2 separate regions of the Homo sapiens genome follow, and region 2 is linked to region 1. The links are contacts of gene promoters, found by promoter capture Hi-C in human tissues and cell types (Jung and others, 2019). All regions are on one chromosome and are shown on one strand. The core of a region is centred on a gene start or on the middle of the fragment in contact, and the rest is flanking DNA. Distances in the headings are between cores, read along the strand shown. Region 1 holds the start of ZSCAN21 (zinc finger and SCAN domain containing 21). Region 2 overlaps ZNF789 (zinc finger protein 789).

Evidence for each region. The method cuts DNA at HindIII sites, captures the fragments that hold promoters and counts their contacts. A contact is called where the count stands out against the background at its distance.
Region 2: a fragment that was not itself captured here is called in contact with the fragment with the promoter of ZSCAN21 in region 1 in 2 of the 25 tissues and cell types used here (adrenal gland and dorsolateral prefrontal cortex).

What each region holds. Positions count from the first base shown.
Region 1 is chr7:100,047,594-100,051,357 of GRCh38, reverse strand. ZSCAN21 (zinc finger and SCAN domain containing 21) reads right to left here and starts at 1,584. Exons shown (of 4, transcript NM_145914.3): 1 at 1,517-1,584. RefSeq lists an enhancer at 1,063-1,682. The HindIII fragment of the contact is 16,971 bases long and covers 1-3,764 here.
Region 2 is chr7:99,477,175-99,480,938 of GRCh38, reverse strand. It overlaps ZNF789 (zinc finger protein 789), which reads right to left. Exons shown (of 5, transcript NM_213603.3): 3 at 1,152-1,278. Among named protein-coding and RNA genes, the nearest start is that of ZNF789, 6.2 kb to the right of the region's middle. The HindIII fragment of the contact is 8,015 bases long and covers 1-3,764 here.

The DNA.
Region 1 (3,764 bases), core at 335-2,834:
CGCGCCACTGCATTCCAACCTAGGCGACAGAGCGAGACTCCATCTCAAAAAAAAAAAAAAAAAAAAAAAAAAAAAGAAAATCCCTAGATCCCTAGGCAGCCAAATTAGATAATTCTTGAGCCACAGAATTCCACTAATTGTTACAAGTTCTTCCTTTTTTTTTTTTTTTTTTTTTTTTTGAGACGTAGTTTCACTCTTGTTTCCCAGGCTGGAGTGCAATGGCGCGATCTCGGCTCACCGCAACCTCTGCCTCCCAGGTTCAAGCGATTCTCCTGCCTCAGCCTCCTTACAGGCATGTGCCACCACGCCCGCCTAATTTTGTATTTGTAGTAGAGACGGGGTTTCTCCATGTTGGTCAGGCTGGTCTCGAACTCCCGACCTCAGGTGATGCACTCGCCTCGGCCTCCCAAAGTGCTGGATTACAGGCATGAGCCACCGCGCCCGGCCACACAAATTCTTTAACCTGAATCAAATTCCGCATCATTTCAAAAATCCTAGGTTAGTCCAAGACCAATACTCACTTTCTCCATAGCAGCCTTCCAACACTTGAAAACAATTATCTTGCCTCTTAATTCTTTTCCTCTCCACAGCTCAACTGTTCCTTAGATTTCGTGGGTTTCCAAGTACCTCACCCATCAAATCAACGTTCTTTTTTTTTGTGAGACCAAGTGTTGCTCTGTCGCCCAGGCTGGAGTGCAGTGGCGTGATCTCGGTTCAGTGCAACCTCCACCTGGTGGGTTCAAGCGATTCTCCTGCCTCAGCCTCCTGAGTAGCTGGGATTACAGGCGCGCTCCACCACACCCAGCTAATTTTTGTATTTTTCGTGGGGACAGGGTTTGGCCAGGCTGGTCTCGAACTCCTGACCTCAAGTGATCCGCCGGCCTCGGCCTCCCGAACTGCTGGGATTACAGGCGTGAGCCACCGCGCCTGGCCCAAATCAACTTTGTCCTGACACTCTTTTATTTATACATGGTTCTTTAAGACTGTTTTTCTAAACCATGAGCAGATCCCTATTCTGTGTGTGTGTTCTAGCCCGAACAAAGCCCGAGGGGACTATTTCTTCCCTTGGATTTGATTCTACCCAACACTTCTAATGAGGTTCGGCTTCCCACAGGTTTCCAACACCTTGGGCGTATTGCCATCAATGAGCCTTGCGTTCGGACCTCCAGTTCAGAGAAAGGGAAAAAAGGCGGCCACGGTCAGACTGATAGACGGCTTGGCTTGGGGAACGCACAAAAAAAACTATTCTGGAACGCGAAAGAACTTCCAAAACATCTGTTCTTCCAGCTTTCATTTGTTAAAGCCCCAAGTGGAAGAAAAGGCTTTCCAGGCAGCCAGCGCCCCCACCAGCTGGTCCTGGGCGGGGACGAGGAGCTCCTCCCCACAGCCCTGCTAGGACCGGTCTAGGTGGGGTCCTCGGAAGCCACAGCTGCTAAACCCACTCCTCCCTCCCCAGACCATTCAGCCACGGCTCCCTCTCCTGTCCGCCTCGCTAACCCGCGACCAGCAGGCTCACCATGAATCAGAGCCGCTCCGGGTACCGGGAGACCGCACCGCGTACCTCGGGACCGCGCACCCGGAAGTGCGTCATAGCCCCGCCCCCGCGGAAAAGTAGTGCGGGGCCGTAGCGGCCCCTCTAGAAATTCGGGAGGTCCTCTCTGTGTCTCTGGCCCTTGGGACATCAGGGAGGAGTTGAGTCCACCCCGAAAATGAAAAGCCAGGGACTCTTTCTGTTTTTACCGAAGACGGTCAGACCAGATGAAGGCTGCGGCGGTTCTCTCACCCAACCCCGACGCCCTGGGGCAGGGAGGGCATGGGCTGAGGCAGCCACCTCGGTCACCCTCGTGGACTTCAGAGCCCAAGGTCCCTGAGTACCCTTGGGATAAGCACAGGGTTCCTTGTCCATAAACCTGGATCGAGGTCACTGGATACCCTTGGGCCCAGCTCCTCGGTCCAGGTTTATGGACATGGAACGCTGTGCTTGGCCCGTGAAGCCAGAGATTGAGTTAATACTTCGTTGATGAAAACAATCAAACTGTAAAATATTTGAAGACATTTATTTTGAGACAAATATGAGTGACCAATGGCCCAAGGTACAGTCTCAAGAGGTCCTAAGAACATGTACCTATGATGGTCGGGCTACAGCTTGGGTTTATACAATTTAGGGAGACATAAGACACCAATCAAGACATGTAAGATGAACATTGGTTCTGTGGGAAAGGCAGGACAATTCCAAGCGGGGATGTTCCAAGTCATAGGTGAACTCAAGGATCTTCTAATGGGCAACTGGCTGAAAGTTATTGTCTAAAGACCTATAATCAATAGAAAGGAATGTCTGGGATGACTAAGGCAGGGGTCCCCAACCCTTGGGGCACAGACAGATACCAGTCCATGGCCTGTTAGGAACTGGGCCGTTACTGCAGGAGGTGAGCTGCAGGAGCAAAGCTTCACCTGTATCTACAGCCACTCCCCATTGCTCTAATTACTGCCTGAGCTCCGCCTCCTGTCAGATCAGCCATAGCATTAGATTCTTACAGGAGCACAAACCCTATTGTGGACAGTGCATGCGAGGGATCTAGGTTGTGCACTCTTTATGAGAATCTAATACCTGATGATCTGTCGCTGTCTCCCATAATTCCCCAATGGAACCCTCTAATTACAGGAAAACAAACTCAGGGCTCCCACTAATTCTATGTTATGATGAGTTGTACAATTATTTCATGATATATTACAATGTAATAATAATAGAAATAAAGTACACAATAAATGTAATGTGCTTGAATCATCCTGAAACCACGAAACCATCCATCCCCCTCCTGCCATCCATGGAAAAAACTGTCTTCCACAAAACTGGTTCCTGGTGCCAAAAAAGGTTGGGGACCGCTGAACTAAGGGGTTGTGGAGACCAGGGTTCCCATTATGCAGATGGAGCCTCCAGGCAGCCGGCTTCAGAAAGAACAGACTGCAAATATTTCTTATCAGACTTTAAAAAGTGCCAGACGCCCAGTTGATTCTCTCCTGGATCAGGAAAAAGGCCTGGAAAGGGAAGGGGATTCTCTACCAAGTGTAGATTTTCCCCACGAGAAGACAGCTTGGTAGGGTTATTTCAAGATATGGCAAAAAAACATATTTGGGGTGGAAATATTTTCGTTTCCTTCTTTATCTGCCATGTGATGTTATGCCAGAGCCTGGTTGAAAAGTCAGCCAGGTTATATAAAGTTAAATAAAACCTGTCTGATGAGGCTTTATGGTTTGAAGGGGGTGACTCTCCAGGCCCCTTAGATAGTAATTTGGGCAAAAGAAGAAAACAGTCAGAGTTTAGTCCTCAACTTTGCAGACCAGGGTCATGGTGACATCAATCAGAAGTAGCCTTGCCCTTCTGTGGGTCCTAAACTTCCTGAGCAGAAGACCTAGGGGCTGAACTCCTTCCAATGCTGCAGGACTCGATGAAGATGTCTTTGCCTGCCTTTTCCTCCTGCTGCTCTGGCTCAGCTGCAGGTTTCCAGACTGAAGAGTCTGTATTTTCCACCTCAGCACTACTCCATCGGGCCCCCTGTGAGTTTGCTTTTGTCTGGTCCTGCAAAACTCACATGTGTTGAGGAACACCAATATGGCTGCCTGCACGTGGAATTCCCTGTCCATACGCGTCATGAATTCATAGATACTCAATATCATTTTTCCCTGACATTTTCCAGGATAATTTAAAAATTTTTTATGTTTAAAGACATGCAAAATTAGAGAAAATGAGCCTCCATGTGCATTCT
Region 2 (3,764 bases), core at 742-3,241, 570 kb after region 1:
ATTAAAATTATAAAAATCCAGAGGTGGGTGGACAGTCCCACAGAGGTGGTCAAGACTCTGTGCTAAGAGTGTCAGTGCAAGGGTTAAACATGTGACCCCGGAAAGAAAACTATTTAGCAAGGCAACTCCCACAGTGGGAGACTACAGTGGACTAGGACAGGGTAGGCTCCTGAAAAGAATGGAAGCAGTGAAGGTTCAGAAATGAAGTTGGTTGAAAATCATTTCCTGAGCACCCACTAATGTTACACACCAAGAAGTTACCCATTTCCAGAGAAAAGAAAGAAAAAGACTTTCAAGAGCATAAGAAGTGAGCCTTTGGAATGTAAATCTACCATAATTCTCAACTCCTGGAGGTCTTACAGATGAGGAACACGAGGTGAGAGTGAAGAATGCATGAAGTGTCTCGGTCTGAGCCCTAACACAACACGACTATTCACTGTCCCCAGTCCCTTATGTGAAACCCTTAGGACCAGATGTGTTTCAGGAGTCAGAATTTTTCCCATTTCAGAAAGGTGACCTGGTGTAAATATTTTACATAACGTATCATCCCCAGTAGGGTTTGGAGTGGTGCCCTCAAATACACTGTTATTTTTGTTGTTGTTTTGTTTTGTTTTGAGACGGAGTCTCGCTCTGTCACCCAGGCTGGAATGCAGCGGCATGATCTCGGCTCAATGCAACCTCTGCCTCCCGGGTTCAAGCGATTCTCCTGCCTCAGCCTCCCAAGTAACTGGGACTACAAGCGTGCACCACCACACCAGGCTAATTTTCGCATCTTAAGTAGAGCTGGGTTTCACCATATTGGCCAGGCTGGTCTCAAACTACTGACCTCATGTGATCCACCCGCCTCGGAATCCCAAAGTGCTGGGATTACAGGTGTGAGCCACCGCACCTGGCCTACACTGTTATTTCTGAAGTTGGGTATACAGATATGCACACCAAGTTGGAAAAATAAAGACAATAAATGGTTTCCTATAGGATGAAGTCAGGTTTCACTGTGGTGATGTCTGGTCAGGGCTTGTAGCCACACGAGTTATAAAAAAACCTTTCGGTTTTCACCGCTTTTTCTGATTCTGGAATTGCAGATAAGGGACTAAGGGCTTGCACAGACACTCAGAACACAGACAAAGCCCAATCTTCAAGCCGTGTCCTACCCAGCAAGACCATGTTCCTGTAGTTCTCCAACATCACATCTCGGTAGAGGTCCTTCTGACCCCAGTTGAGGTGGCCCCACTCCTCTCTGGTGAAGTACATCGCCACATCCTCAAACGAGAGCAGCTCCTGGAAAAGTAGCTGATAAAGGTAACTGCAATTCTTAAAATAACTTACGCTCAATGATTATTCCACAGCTGAGGAAACCAAGGTTTGGGAGGTAGAGTGTGGGCCAAGGGCACCCAATTCATAAGGAATATATTCAGGGCTCCTTTCAGGCCTGATGGCCCTCAGGCCAGACATGTGCTGGCTTCCATACCACGGGGTCGACACAATTAATCTCTAAAGGGCCAGATGGTAAATATTTTAGGCTTTTCAGGCCCTCTGGTCTCTGTTCCAGTTCCTCAAATCTGCTGTTGATTAGAGGAACAGCAAATCAACAATCTGAGGAACAGCCTTTGTGTTGGAGCACAAAAGCAGCCGTGGACAAGTAAGCGAATGGGCACAGCTGTGTTTCAGGGAAACTTTACCAAGCGGTCCAGGGCAGTTTGCTGACCGCTGCTCTATAAAAATAACCTATTGCTTCTGCCCCAGGTTCCTTAGGAAAGAGATGAGGTCACTGGGGGGTTGGTTAATGTGCAGACTATTTACAAAGGGATGAATAGTCTCAATGAACATGAACAAGAAATGTGGAAGCTCGCAGGTCCTGGCCACCCTGGGGAACCAGGGCCTGCTAGGTCTGAAGGGGTAAGGTGGGGAGGGCTGCTGGAGCCCAGAAGGCTGCTGGAAGGGGAGCAAGACCAGCTGCGGCTGAACAGGATGCAGCCACACCCATCCCACAGCCCAGTGGGGAGGGAGCCGTGGGAAGAGAAACCCAACCTCAGTTTTCCCCAGGCCTCCGGCGCCCTGTCCCCTGTCCTCCAACCCTCTTCATCCCATTGCCACAAGCCAAGCAGATGCCAGAGACCAGGGGAGCCCGTTGCTGGAGAATATAAAAGGTACAGACCAAGGCGCAGACGCCTGGGGAGCATATCCAGAGTGGGCAACAGTGGACACAGCACAGTGAGCACAGGGGACATTACATCTGCAAGTGACTGCCCCCTCCAGTGGGCTGAGCACTGAAGCTGCCACACTCTCCCTCCCACACCACTGCAGCCCTCTGGGCAAAGGGGCCCAGCGGCTGTCTACACACTCCTTGCTCTCACAAGACACTGCATGGGTTCAGAGGGGATGTGTGCAGGGAAAGGGCAAACGTTCGCTGTCCTATAAGTGGTCAGTAACAGGAAATGCCCACCCCCATCCTGAGACCATCCTGAGAAGCTTCACGTAGCTCCCCTCTGCAGGCAGGCACCAGAACCTCCCAAATTATACGGACTTTCTTTCCTGCCTATCAAACCTGAGTTCCACTGCTACGGTTGCAGGCCCTTTCTCACCATTATCCAGAGTGTCACTCTTTTACCAGAGCTGCGCTGCCATGTCCTCAATCTGACCTACTCAGCCATCTGCATTCCCGCACCTGCACAAGGTTAACAAGCATGGGAATAAAATGGCTTCATCTCCCAGAGTCATTGTGGCATGGTAACTCCTCTCCTAACATCCACAATAGGTTCTTGGAAACTGATTTTTAGCAAAAGTATGTACAGCAGCAGGTCCTTGAATAACTTTGTTTCACTGTAACACTGATGGAAAAAAAACGGTTTTGATATACATAGTTTCCCTTAAAGTTGCAGTTTCCAAGAACCCATCAACAGCTAGGACTTGTACATTGACAGATGGGCACCAAATGTTGCTTAAAAGTTCCATTTTTTGTTTGTTTGGGTTTTTGTTTTCGTTTTTGTTTTTTGAGACAGTTTCGCTCTTGTTGCCCAGGCTAGAGTGCAATGGCGCGATCTCGGCTCACTGCAACCTCCACCTCCTCGGTTCAAGCAATTCTCCTGCCTCAGCTTCCCAAGTAGATGGGATTATAGGCATGCGCCACTATACCCAGCTAATTTTTGTATTTTTAGTAGAGATGGAGTTTCACTATATGTTGGCCAGGCTGGTCTCAAACTCCTGACCTCAGGCAATCCACCCCCCTCAGCCTCCCAAAGTGCTGGGATTCCAGGCATGAGCCACTGGTCCTCTCCTTTCTTTCAAACTCAGTCTCTTCTAGGCTGGGCGCGGTGGCTCACACCTGGATTCCCAGCACTTTGGGAGGCTGAGGCTGGTGGATGGCTCAAGCCAAGAGTTCAAGAACAACCTGGGCAACATGGTGTAACCCTGTCTCTACAAAAAATACAAAAGTAACCAGGCGTGGTGGCATGTACCTGTGGTCCCAACTACTTGGGAGGCTGAGGTGGGAGGATCACCTGAGCCTGGGAAGGTCAAGGCTGCCATGAGCCATGATCATGCCACTGCATTCCAGCCTGGGCAACAGTGTGAGACTCCGTCTAAAAAAAGACAAAACACAGGCTGGGCACAGTGGCTCACGCCTGTAATGCCAGTACTCTGGGAGGCTGAGGTGGGTGGATCACGAGGTCAAGAGATGGAGACCATTCTGGCCAACATGGTGAAACCCCGTCTCTACTAAAAGTACAAAAATTAGCTGGGCGTGGTGGCACTCGCCTGTAGTCCCA